Regions from separate parts of the Homo sapiens genome. Here region 2 is linked to region 1. The links are contacts of gene promoters, found by promoter capture Hi-C in blood cells and fetal thymus (Javierre and others, 2016). All regions are on one chromosome and are shown on one strand. The core of a region is centred on a gene start or on the middle of the fragment in contact, and the rest is flanking DNA. Distances in the headings are between cores, read along the strand shown.

The links. The method cuts DNA at HindIII sites, captures the fragments that hold promoters and counts their contacts. A CHiCAGO score of 5 or more calls a contact.
Region 2: a contact is called between the fragment with the promoter of DYNLT1 here and the fragment with the promoter of GINM1 in region 1, in 1 of 17 cell types (neutrophils). The highest score is 6.1, in neutrophils.

What each region holds. Positions count from the first base shown.
Region 1 is chr6:149,560,798-149,567,624 of GRCh38, forward strand. It overlaps GINM1 (glycosylated integral membrane protein 1), which reads left to right and starts at 5,578. Exons shown (of 8, transcript NM_138785.5): 1 at 5,578-5,737. The coding sequence starts at 5,618. RefSeq lists silencers at 69-118, 5,305-5,854 and enhancers at 4,745-4,874, 6,125-6,174. The HindIII fragment of the contact is 6,228 bases long and covers 3,478-6,827 here.
Region 2 is chr6:158,640,472-158,647,298 of GRCh38, forward strand. It overlaps DYNLT1 (dynein light chain Tctex-type 1), which reads right to left and starts at 4,272. Exons shown (of 5, transcript NM_006519.4): 1 at 4,211-4,272; 2 at 848-889. The coding sequence starts at 4,237. It also overlaps a transcript of SYTL3 not described here. RefSeq lists an enhancer at 3,643-4,586 and silencers at 3,710-4,039, 4,200-4,429. The HindIII fragment of the contact is 7,871 bases long and covers 2,229-6,827 here.

The DNA.
Region 1 (6,827 bases), core at 4,328-6,827:
GTTGGGTTGTATATGAGAGGTGCACTCCCAGAGGTGCCCACCAGGGCATGAGCTCTGGATTGGCTGTGTTGTATATGAGATGTAAACTCCCAGAGGTGCCCAGGGAAGTAGTTTGCGATTTCTAGGAATTAGCTAACCCTCGGAGCAGCAGTGTCTCCAGGGCCAGCAAGGCCCCAGGTGCCGTAACATCAAGAATACAGAAAATAGGCAAATACAGTTAATACATATGGCTATGAAGTTGCCTGTCATTTTAGCACCAACTGAGGTAAACAATGATAAAGTGAGGCTTTTATATTCTAGTGAATTAAATAAAGTGAATCCTGACTTAAAAGAAGAAAATCCACTCCCAAGAGGGAAATCCACTGAAGGCAGAGGAAAGACACCCTACACTCTGCTTCTGCTTCCAAGTGGAGGCTTCTTTCATTTCTAAAGGTGATTTAAAAAGTCAAATAAGGCTGGGCACGGTGGCTCACACCTGTAATCCCAGCACTTTGGGAGGCTGAGGCAGGTGGATCATGACATGGTCAGGAGTTCAAGACCAGCCTGGCCAACATGGTGAAACCCCGTCTCTACTAAAAATACAAAAATTAGCCAGGTGTGGTGGCAGGCACCTGTAATCCCAGCTAGTCGGGAGGCTGAGGCAGGAGAATTGCTTGAACCCGGGAGTTGGAGGTTGCAGTGCGCTGAGATCGTGCCACTGCACTCCAGCCTGGGTGACAGAGCAAGACTCCATCTCAGAAAAAAAAAAAAAAGTCAAATAAGACAAATGAAAATGGCATCTTACCACAAATATAACCTACTTATCTGGGTTACTGAATATGAAATGATCTCTAAACAAACTCTTCTTGCAGTATCTGTTACAGATGTTCTATTTTTTAAAACCTGAAACCTGATAAGATTTCTTATTCCTTAGGATACTTATTTTAATCTTTTTTTTTTTTTTTTCAAGGCGGAGTCTCGCTGTGTCGCCCAGGCTGGAGTACAGTGGCTAGATCTCGGCTCACTGCAAGCTCTGCCTCCCGAGTTCATGCCATTCTCCTGCCTCAGCCTCCCGAGTAGCTGGGACTACAGGCGCCTGCCACCACGCCCGGCTAATTTTTTGTATTTTTAGTAAAGACAGGGTTTCACCGTGTTAGCCAGCATGGTCTCGACCTCCTGACCTCGTGATCCGCCTGCCTCAGCCTCCCAAAGTTCTGGGATTACAGGGGTGAGCCACCGCGCCCGGCCCTTTAATCTTTTATCTTCAGGATTTTTATTAGGGTACCAAATATTAAATTATAGTATGATTTTTAGCATCCTTGAGTACAAACGTCTCTGCAGATTTTCAGGTTGTTGAAACTAGTTAGCTGAGGGAGCAGAGAGCAGGGTCTGCATCTTGGCCCTGGAGCCCCTCTAGCTCCTGTGATGGTGGAGAAGGCATAGCTCTCTTACACTTTACTGTTTCTCCATTTCTCCCAACACAGCTTATATATATATATATATATATATATATATATATATATATATATATATATATATATTTTTTTTTTTTTTTTTTAAGACGAAGTTTCACTCTTGTTGCCCAGGCTGGAGTGCAATGGCGCGATCTCGGCTCACCGCAACCTCTGCCTCCCGGGTTCAAGCAATTCTCCCGCCCCAGCCTCCTGAGTACCTGGGATTACAGGCATGCGCCACCACGCCCAGCTAATTTTTGTGTTGTTAATAGAGACGGGGTTTCTTGAACTCCCGGCTGGCCTCGAACTCCCGACCTCAGGTGATCCGCCTGCCTCCACCTCCCAAAGTGCAACCCAGCTCATATTTTTAGAAAGCTAATGAGTAGAATAATTTATAATCATCTCTATAAATGTATATAAATTAACTAAATGCCTTTTGTTTCATTATACTGTGTTGGCTTAGAATGCCAGAGTTTAAAACCACAGCTTCATCATTTACTGTTCTGTAACTCAGAGAAAAACACTTAATTTCTATAAATTTCTGTTTTGTATATAAAAATGGGATAATAAATTGTAATCATGTCATTAGGCTGTTATAAGGTTTAAATAATATACATAAAGCACTTAACACAATTAGCATAATAAATGCTGGCTACTACAATGATAATATTTCTATGAGTTGTTCTTCATATGAGAGGCATCACCCATCATTATGAGCTAATTAAATTCATTCATAAATATATGGACAAGAAAGTTACAGCAAAAGCAGTTTTAAAATATTTTAGGCCAGGCACAGTGGCTCATGACTGTAATCCCAGCACTTTGGGAGGCCGAGGCAGGTGGATCACCTGAGTTCAGGAGTTTGAGACCAGCCTGGCCAACGTGGTGAAACTCCGTCTCTATTAAAAATACAAAAATTAGCTGGGCGTGGTGGTGGGCACCTGTTATCCCAGCTACTTGGGAGGTTGAGGCAGGAGAATCGCTTGAACCTGGGAGGAGGAGGTTGCGTGAGCTGAGATTGTGCCATTGCACCCTAGCCTTGGTGACAAGAATGAAACTCTTGTCTCAAAAAAAAAAAAAAAAAAAAAAAGTGGCTCATGCCTGTAATCCCAACATTTTGGAAGGCCGAGGCAGGAGGATTGCTTCAGCTCAGGAATTCAAGACCAACCTGGGCAAGCTAGCAAGCCCTCGTCTTCACTTAAAAAAAAAAATTAGCAGGGCATGGGGGCATGTGCCTACAGTCCCAGCTACTCAGGAGTCTGAGGTAGGAAGATGGCTTCAGCTCAGGAGGTCAAGGCTGCAGTGAGCCATGATCTATCTTGCCATGGCACTCCAGCCTGGGTGTCAAAGCAAGACCCTGTCTCAAAAAAATAAAATATAATATCTTTGTTTCTTGCTCTCCCTCTTGTCATCTTCTAGGGGTCTTTCAAAAAGTTCAAAAATATGTAGATGACTAACTCTGGAAAATACTGGAGTAGACTGTGTTGTAATAGAAGTGCAGTGACTCACTCACTCCCAGAAACTGGAAACAGATACAAATCAGGTCCCAGATTTCCTTTTGGCATCAAGCCTGCTTTAAATTGCAGAAAAAGATGGACTCAAATTTTGATTGTGGGAATGATGAAAATGACAATGAAATCGGCTACTGAAAAAGGAAATATATCAAGGTTTGGAATCAAAAGGTATTATCTGGTGAAAGAATAAAGACATTTTAATATATACTTTGTTTTCTGTAGTATTAGAAATATTTTAGAATATCTTCTCCTATATGAAAGATTACCTTCAAAGAAGAGAAAGCATCTAATGTGCACAGAACCGCAGTGGGTTGCTGTCAGGCAACTTGAACTCTTTTTATGATAGAGGATATCAAGTTGACATGAGCTGACTCAAAGGAACATCAAAGTACTCACCGTATTAACATTGACAGATTTATTTGTCGTGTAAGCAACTGCCAAGTTAATTCTGTCTTTTGTTTCTCAGATTAATGTGAAGGCTCAGTAAACCAAGCTGAGTTTTCCAATGGACAAGTGGAACTCAGCCACAAAGCTTGTTTAAAGTTTTGTTGTAACTCATTAGAGTTGTGGTATGGTGCTTTTTCCCCAAATGATGGGGTTTTTTAAATGAAATTCCGTAGCGCTCATGGGTGCATGTAGCAAAACAATGGCCTAAAGAGAACCATTTCATACAAAACAGTAAAATTTTTGATTATTAAATAATACTGTCAACCACTTAGACATTATTTGTCCAACAAACCCCCACTGAGGGCTTACTCTAGCAAGCTGTTTGCTTTAAGGTTTGGCCACCCTCTTCCTGGAGCTCACATCTATCTGACGAGACAGATAAACAATAAAGAATAATGGACAGTTAGACCATGGGAAAGGCTTTGTAAGAAAACAGAGAGCCTCAACTTTACCTATTATCTTTTCATATAGACGTACTTTGTAACCTTATATTACTAATTCAAATTATACAGATCCACATGTCATGTTTTCTGACTTCCAGATTCTTTTTTTTTTTTTTGGAGACGGAGTCTCGCTCCACCGCGCAGGCTGGAGTGCAATGGCGCGATCTTGGCTCACTGCAACCTTCGCCTCCTGGGTTCAAGCGATTCTCCTGCCTCAGCCTCCCTAGTAGCTGGAATTACAGGTGCGTGCCAGTATGCCTGGATAATTTTTGTATTTTTAGTAGAGATGGGGTTTCACCATGTTGGCCAGGCTATTCTCGAACTCCTGACCTCAAGTGATCCACCCGCCTCGGCCTCCTAAAGTGTTGGGATTACAGGCGTGAGCCACTGCACCCGGCTTCTAGATTCCTTTTTTTTTTTTTTTTTTTAATAGACTCAGGCGATCCTCCTGCCTGCGTTTGCTGCATAGCTGGGAGTACAGGCACAAATGACCACGCCCATCTCCAAATTCATTTTTAATTCCAGCAGTAGGAAAAAAAGGAAAAGGCCAAGTTTGCAGATGGAACCCAGAAGTGTGTGGGGCTTCGCTGTGAAATCACTTGTAGCTTAACAATGGCGTGGGGAATCTCAGAGTAAGCCCGGAGTTAGTTGAAAGGAGTCTTTAGCCAAAACGTTTATAATTTATTCTGGGGCGGGGCCGGGGGAGGGGGCGGTGGCGGTCAGCAGGCCTGTGGGAGGAGGGTGTTCAAAGGAGTAAAGGGGGCTCAAAGAGAGAAATAGATTCTTGTTTCCTTTTTCATGTCAAAAGTTTTATTTCATGTCAAAAGTTTTATTTCAAAGGAAGACTAAATATTACTCTTATTCTGCCTGAATGGCCAAGTTTCCAAGTTTTTCTCAATCAACATGCAATCCTGTTAATCTAAAATGCTTGAATTTCTTGCTACTCTGCTTTACAGGGTTCCGTAACTTTTTTTTTTTTTTAAATCTGCAAGGTGGAAGAAAAGTCTAACACTTTCACTTTAGAGTTACGATACTGACCAAAAAGGCACTGACAGCCCAGGTGCGCTGGCTTCCTTCCAGCTGAGCGCTGTCCCCGCGCCGCCTCCAGGGGTCGGCAGAATGCTGAACAGTAAGCATGGCGCATCCTCAACCTTGGCCCCACAATGAATCACCCGAGAAAATTAAAAAACCACCAGGGCCCGAGCCGCAGCCCAGGCTGGAAAGTGGGGTGTTCAGGAAGACCCCAGTACTTTTTAAAGCTGCCCGGGAGAGTCCCACGTGCAGCCAAGGGTGGGGAATTACCCACTTAATAAAAACTTCCCCTGTAAATGCGATGTTTCATTTTTAATGTATAACAGTTTTCTGAAATATTACCGTTGTTTTCATCGTATAGGTACATGTACATGTGCACACACAGACACATGCATGTGTGTAAATACTAATTTTAAAAATAATGGTTACGAGGACATTTACATCGCTCCAGTTGGAGTCCTGTCCAATCCTGAGGGCGGGTCTAATGAGGGGCCGTACCTTCCAAGATTTCACTCCGCCCCTCGACGCCGCGCGGCGCTGCGCGTGCGCAAACGCCTTTCCCTGGCGAGCCGGATCTCGGAGCGTCCCCGCGCCTCTCCGCGGCCGCCCGGGGAGGGGAGGGCCCGTCCCGCCCCTCCCCGTCTCTCCCCGCCCCTCCCCGTCCCTCCCGCCGAAGCTCCGTCCCGCCCGCGGGCCGGCTCCGCCCTCACCTCCCGGCCGCGGCTGCCCTCTGCCCGGGTTGTCCAAGATGGAGGGCGCTCCACCGGGGTCGCTCGCCCTCCGGCTCCTGCTGTTCGTGGCGCTACCCGCCTCCGGCTGGCTGACGACGGGCGCCCCCGAGCCGCCGCCGCTGTCCGGAGCCCCACAGGTAGGGCAGGGCGGGCCTGGCTGGCCGCTTTACGACTCCGACTCTCCGGGAGGCCCGGGCTGTCCACAGTGACGCTTCCCACATCCCACCGGCGGGCAGGGGCGGGGGTCCGGGCCCCCGAAGGAGGTGTGGGGAGAAGCACCCCAGGAAATGGGGGCGGCGTGGGAGGCCGAGGTAAGAGGAAAGGGACCCACTGGGGCTGCGTCGCTGTGAGTGAGCCTCGAGCCACTCCACACCGACTCTCCGGCGGCCCAAGCCGGCGCGCGACCTGACGGGGCTTTGCCGTCGAAGCGCGCGGTTGCCGGTGATCAGGCCTTCGTAATGGCGCCTTCCCGGGGTAGAGCCAGCGCTTGGGCAAGGAATGTTTGTGTGCTCGGGAAGTGTGGAAGTTGCCCACTTCGCGCATTTCCAGGCCACTTGTGCCTGCTCGGCCTGCGATCGCGAGGGTCCGCCGTTCCGAGGCTGCGGGGCTCCGCCGGGCTCAGGTGGGCAGAGGGAGAGACCTGGCCCTCGCGCGACGTAATGTTTTTGTCGGATGTTGGAGGAGAAGTTCTCACGGCGGGGCGCGATCGGCGGTGTCCGCATCCCCTGGGGACTCAGCCCGGCCTCTGGGGGCGGGGCCCAGCAGTCCGGGTTGGAGAGTCCTGCAGGTGCTTCTGATGCCAGCTGAGGTGGGAGAATCGAGGCATCCTAACATTAAAACGTGGCTGATGCTCACCATTCCTGCCGTAGAGTCGTGCCTACCTAGGCCAGTATCAGCCTTTTTTCAGTAGAATGGTAGGGAAAAGTTTGAATATTTTAAAGAGCAAGTGTTCTGAGAATGACAAGAAACTATGTCGGTACACCTCTTCCTAGTCAAGACTTGAATATGAACACTCTAAATACAAAGGCGAAGGGCACGGTAAGTGTCACTTTGACCAACAAGGTGAAACCCCGTCTCTACTAAAAATAGAAAAATTAGCTGGGCGTGGTTGCAGGTGCCTGTAGTCCCAGCTACTCGGGAGGCGGAGACAGGAGAATTGCTTGAACCCGGGAGGCAGAGGTTGCAGTGAGCCGAGATCGTGCCACTGCATTCCAGCCTGGGTGAGGG
Region 2 (6,827 bases), core at 3,022-5,521, 9.1 Mb after region 1:
TCCTACCCTAGGTAGGAATGAGCCCCTAGCTCTCAGCACCGCTCCAGCCACACCCACCTCCTTTCACTCCCTCACACACCATGCACTGCCCCCACTTCCCAGTCTCAGGGGGCCTTGTCCCCTCTTTTTACTGCATTACCCCTACTTCTCATTCTGCAGATTTCAGCTCGAAATGGTCCCTGAACTCCCTGGGTGGGTCACATTCCCAGTTCAGTGCTCTCACAGCACCACCACTAGTGGCACTTACCACACAGCAAATGCAGGCTGACACCTTCCAGCAGGACTGTTTGATGTGTCTGCCCTGCCTGCCCCTCAGCTGTAAACTCCAGAAGGGTCTATGCCCTGCACGCTCCCTCAGTGTGTACTTTCTGAATGAGTAACAAACATCCCTTCTGTCTCTCTTCCTCTTCATGATCAACAACACAATAAAGTGTGAAATTTAGGAATGTAAGAAAAGTAAGCAAATAGGCCCCAAACTGGATCACTAGGTCCAGAATAACTGGAAATTGATTGTTCAATTTTCTTATACTCACTCTTTCTTCATTCAACCCTGGAGACATTTATTTGTATACCAGGATTCTTTTATGCTTAAAAGATTATAGAATCAAATCTTGGTGATATGCAGTAATAATGCTATGTACATAAAACTCCTTATCTGATTTAAAATATGTAATTTACATAATATAGAAGCAACTCTTATCTAGCTATTTACTGAAGTAAAAACTGTTATTTGAAACACCAAAACACACAGACTCAGTCGAAACAATTCCAAGATAGTATTTAAAACACATTATTTTCTCTAATATAAGCCATTAAACATTTAAGAAGTGAGCATTTCTCCTCTTACCTCTTTTACAATGTTGCTCACTTCATCAACAACAAAAGCAGTCTGTAAGGAAGAACATTCAGTTAAGTTTGATTTATTTAAAAGATATTTCCACTACATTGATAAATGCAAATGTAGGTAATGAACATAATGTAGAAATGAAGACCTTAGAAATAATCTAACTAGACTGTTCAGCTTTACCAAGGATGGCATTACAGTCTTCAGAAACCAGAAGACTAGAATACATGCACATAATTTAAAGGTATTGTTTTATTTTTATTTATTTATTTTTGAGACGGAGTGTCGCTCTGTAGCCCAGGCTGGAATGCAGTGGCGCAATCTCAGCTCACTGCAATCTCTGCCTCCCAGGTTCAAGTGATTCTCCTGCCTCAGCCTCCCAAGTAGCTGGGATTACAGGTGCCCTCCACCACACCCGGCTAATTTTCGTATTTTTAGTAGAGATGGGGTTTCATCATGTTGGCCAGGCTGGTCTCGAACTCCTGACCTCAGGTGATCCTCCCGCCTCAGCCTCCCAAAATGCTGGGATTACAGGCGTAAGCCACCACACCTGGCCCTGTTTTGTTTTAATCATGCCACAATCTAAGACTTCACTTTAAACTAGAATTCATTCTCTTCTTCCATTTCAACTGGCTGCTAGAATCATTAACCAATAGAGAGGCTTAATGAGTTGGTTGATTTTTGTATAAATTAACTGAAGCTGCTGAAGTAATCCATTTAAGATGTAATTCTCTCTTCCATGATGTAAACTGATTAGGAGGATCAGTTTGACCTTGAGGAGATTTTTTTAAAGCACCATTACTTGTAAAATGTACGATGATTACATTATCTCCAGGTAATTATTTTTCTTTCCCAGTGCTGCCCTCCGACTCCAGGACTAACCACCAGCTGCCAGCATGGCTGTTCTCTGTCAGTGTCTGGATGACTCAGGAGGTGGGCTGCCTGCAGGAATCTAGTGCCAGGAGTATAGTTTTCCTTTTACACATGGTAGATCTGAATGGGTAAAAGGTCATCCTGAAAATAACATTAGTCAGGCACTTGCCTGCCAATGTGCTCTTCACATGAGCACAAGCGTTTAAAGTTACTGCTGAGTCCCAGGAAAGGTACGTAGCTCTGGACACGCCTTCGAGAGGGCAACCCCTGGGGCCCTCAGTCAACGTGCATCCTGAGGGAATCAAGGCAGAGAACCCTGACTTGGCAGTGAGTCTTCCTCCCTGTCTGGCTGCTGTCCACTGCAGGCCCTGCCCTTTCTTTTTAGGGGGTTCAGGAGCTGACTGCCCGAAGCCACCTCACTTGCTGTACTCAGAAGTCGGACTTGGAAACAAAACCAACTCACTGAGTGAAGAACAATTTGCAATATCTTAGAGATTAAGTCATTTCTGGAAGCTTAAAGGATCCTTCCAAGTGACTACCGTGACCTTAATCACAAAGGAAAGGCACTGTATCACCTCCCATATGGTTACAGTACGAAAAAGGTTGAGGGACATTTTAAAGAATTTTTAGTGGAAAGCAGAGTTGTATTGAATCCAGTGGATAGTTTTAACGTCTCCAAGAAAGATGAATGGTGAGTTGAGAGAATAGTTACAAAGGCCCAGGCATCTACACGAAGTTAGAAGAGATGCAGAAAAGGCTGCTAAGAGGCTGGTGGGAGGACCAGAACGGGCCATTCAGTAAATACCTAAGACATGCCTACTACAAGACAGCCATGGTCTCCACCTCCCAGGGCCTCCATCCCAGGTAGAACACTCATCACTCTGTCCAGCCCCTTCATTTTACACATATGCGATTGAGATCTCGAATAATGAAGCCACTTAGCCACCTTATTTGTGGGAGTCAGAATCGGACTGCAGTATTAAGCGCTTTCCTTTACAAAGCGATTTCTTTTTTAGAAGTTTTACTCGATATTACTGTAATACAAGACATTTTCCAATATTATATTAGTAACAGTTTAAGGGGAAAGGCTTTTTTCTTTGCCAACTGCTCCTGAACCAGCTCTTCTCGTCATTATTCACTTGGTTGCCATCAGCATTCAAACACTGATTATGCCACTGTCACAGGAAGTGTGTGCTAGTTAGGAAATCAGATCAAAACTGAAACTCTAGAATCAGTCCTTAAGTTTTAGTTTTATTTTCCCTGAAAACATTCCTCCTTAAACGAAATTTTTTTCTTTTTTTTTGGTTTTTGAGACGGAGTTTCGCTCTTGTTGCCCAGGCTGGAGTGCAATGGCGCGATCTTGGCTCACGGCAACCTCTGCCTCCCAGGTTCAAGGGATTCTCCTGCCTCGGCCTCCCGAATAGCTGGGATTACAGGCATGCGCCACCACGCCCGGCTAATTTTGTATTTTTAAAAGAGACGGGGTTTCTCCATGTTGGTCAGGCTGCTCTCGAACTCCTGACCTCAGGTGATCCGCCCGCCTAGGCCTCCCAAAGTGCTGGGATTACAGGCGTGAGCCACTGCGCCCAGCCACTAAATTTCATAAATGGTAAGATATCCAACCTTACCAAATGTATCTATAGTTTATATTTTTGACAGGCTGCATAATAAATCCATAGGGCTCTATCTGAATTTCAACAAGGATTATTCAGTAAGAAGAAAATGAGTGTTGTATCTCAGCTGCGCCCATCAGCTCTATTCCCCGAATGACCGTGAGCTTGAAGGAAAGCCATTTAACGCACACGGTGCCGATGGGTGTCTTCTGCTTGGCGACATCGTGGGCTTTATCCTACTTCCTCAAGGAGGCATAAAAGATGATTTTTTCCCCACAACAATGAGCTTTCTTACAGACATATTAAACGGAAATGAAATGTGCTACTCATTCCCAGCGTTGCAGAACCAGGTGAGGCCCGAGACAAAGGCGCGGGATGGCCGGGACGCCAGCCCGGGGCGGAGGGGCTGGCGGCGGGAGCGTCACCCGCACCTCCGCGGGGAGACGTCCAAGCCTCGGCGCTCCCAGCCCGGCCGCCGCGCCCCGCTCCAGGCTGGGGCTGGGGCTGGGGTCAGCCCCGCAGAGCAAGGGGCGGTGATGTCATCCTCTCGGCGAGCTTGGCTGCGGGCCGGAGGCGAGGCCCTGCGGGAAGGTTTCTCGGCACCGCTCACCGGGGCGCTCTCTCCGAGTCACGCCCGGTGCCTCCCCGCGCGGGAAGAAGCTCAATCCCCTTCCCGCCCCCCGCGCCGGGGAAACGGCGGCAATGTCCGGGCAGAATGGGGCCGGGCGGAGCGCCGGCGACCGGGAAGCTCAGGCCGTGGGCTGCCGAGACTGGCCTAGCTGAAGGAGGTGGGCAGCCAGGCCTTTCCGGGCAGGACCGCGTGTCCTTCCGCGGCCAGGGCTCTAGGCCTCCACCCTTCCGTCGCCGACCCGGCGGTTACCTCCTCCGCAGCCTGGTAGTCTTCCATCTTTCCTCCGGCGCGTCCCCTCCGGCTCCCTGAGTGGCGCGGACTGCGCAGGCGCACTCAGGCCCCGCCCCGGACCTGCCACGCCCCTCTCCTCTCGCGCCTGCCTCGCCCATGCCCAGCTCCCGGGCCCCGCCCTTCGCTGCCCGGACCCTCAGTGACCCCATCCCTGGGCGGGGCCCGTGGGTGGACCCTGAATTCGCCTCTCCTCCTGTCCTCTGGGAGGTGGTAGTTTCCATGGGAATCCGTGAGGGTAGCCGGGCAGCTCCCTAAACCTTAGCAACAGAAACAAAACACACGTACAAAAGGCAGTCCTGGAGGGGAAGCGTGGTCCCGGCCCCTCCTCCGGTTTGTACTGTGTGGATTGACGCGGACGTTCAAACCCGCTCGGACACCTGGCAACAAACTCGAAAGTGACTGCTGAAGGCAGTGCGCCCGGTGAGACGTTGTTGCAGTTCCCTTGGGGACTGGGATTGGCATGCTTTAGCTATCTGAACGAAACTTCCCTTTGGGGAGTTAAGTTTTCCAGGTAAATGAGAATTTTTCCTTTAAGCACCATTAAAAAAAAACATTTTGGGTGGAAAATTTTGTAAAATGTGGCACACTTCCTGACTACCTTAACCATAGTGAACTAGACAGACTTTATTTGTATGTGGGTTCTTTATGGAAATTAGGAATTGCACTGGGCTCTGGTAAACTGCCCTCCACGGAAAGCTGGGGCATATGCATCTATTGGCAGGTATTCTGAGGCTCCGAGTTTTGATTTTGGCGTTTGCTTTTTCTGGTTTCGTCATGCACTTGAATTCAGGTTGCTGGAACCCACTTCCCATTCCCCAAGAAAGAGCTGACTGCAAGGGTCCCAGGGATTTGGTAGACCTAAACTTCAAATCCCACATCTAATCCATCAACAACCCTTGTTATTTCTACCCCATATGCTCGGGACCCCAGTTAAAGATTGATATCTCTCATCTGGATTATGACCATCGGACTGTAACCTGGTCGGTCTATCAGGGTCTTATTAGAGCCCTTCAAGAGGAACCTAACCCAACGACTCCTCCCTCCCCTCACCCATTCTGCCCTGCCATAAGTCAATAGTTACTAAGTTGTCAGACTATAGACTAATCTTAGTGATCTTTGGATGACTAAACTTTTAACATATCTTAGCTCAAAATCTCCTACAGAGAGCCATTCTGTGACCACGGCATCTAAGGTAGCCGACCTCCTCATCCTCCACCCCTGCATCCTGTACATTTTCCTCATAGCACTTCTCTCAGTTTGCAAGAACGTATTTATGGTTGCTTGTTGATGGTGTGTCTCCATTTAGAAACTAAGTACCATGCAGGAAGGATCTGTTTTATTCACTAATGTATCCCCTTCCTTCCACATTGTGCCTGGCACATAATAGCTACACAATTAACATTTATTTATTTATTTATTTAGAGACAGGGTGTCATTCTGTTGCCCGGGCTGGAATGCAGTGGTGTGATCGGAGATTTTGAGCTAAGATGTGTTGAAGTTTAGTCATCCAAAGACCACTAAGAGCTTGAACTCCTGGGCTCAAGGTATTCTCCTGCCTTAGCCTCCTGAGCAGCTGGGATTCCAGGCACTAGCCACCACACCCACCTATTTTTTTAATATGTCTTTTGTAGAGATGGGATCTCACTGTGTTGCCCAGGCAGGTCTCAAACTCCCGGGCTTAAGGGATCCTCCAGCCTCAGCCTCCCAAAGTGCTGGGATTATAGCTGTGAGCCACCATGCCCGGCCTAAAATTTATTGCATGAATCATTTCCCTCATGGGTGTTAGCTTTGCCTCAGACCCAAATGGAGAGAACTGGGGAGTGGAGGAAGATGCAACTACCTGCCTCCTTGAGGGAAACAGGGCTGGCGAGAGGAGGGCAGAGCCCTGACTGACACAAGGCTGCTTGGCCCTGGGTGTTCGGCCTGAGCGAGGAGACTTGCTGGGCAGGCTGGTTGCTTTACCACACCTGGTCTTCCTCTCCTTGGATTCTGAACTTTATCTACCTTTTGAATTCCTTTCTTATTACCTGGCTTCAACTCCCCTGTCCTGGTGTTTCAGTCGTGCGCCTCAGTCCACATGTGATTCTGATGCTGACATTGCTTTGCCTGCCTGCCCTTCTCAGTATCACCTGAGATCTCGTTTTGGATGTTCTCTGCCTACCTGGTTCCAAGCTCTTGGCCCCACCACGATCCTGAGCCAATCAGGAGCCTCTGAAATCTTTTTTCTTCTGCTACTTTGTTGTGGACCTGGAGTTCAGTAGCTAAGTGTCACAGAATTATGTGCAAAGCAAGAGTAAACCGGTTCTGAGCAAACACCTGCAATGGAAGAACATGACACTTGGGACAGCCTTTTCAATTTTCCCCACAACCTTTTAGGAACTTCCTAATTTAAATCAATTTCCTGAATGTCTGCTAGGATGGTGCATAATTAATGCATGGATCTTGTTATAACTGCGGATCACCAGCATGCACATAAATCAACAGAAAACATGCAAATGTGCATTTTAAAAATGCTTACATGATTTTAGCTTTTATACATTGGGTACCACTCTCCAATTTTAACTATTAAAGAACA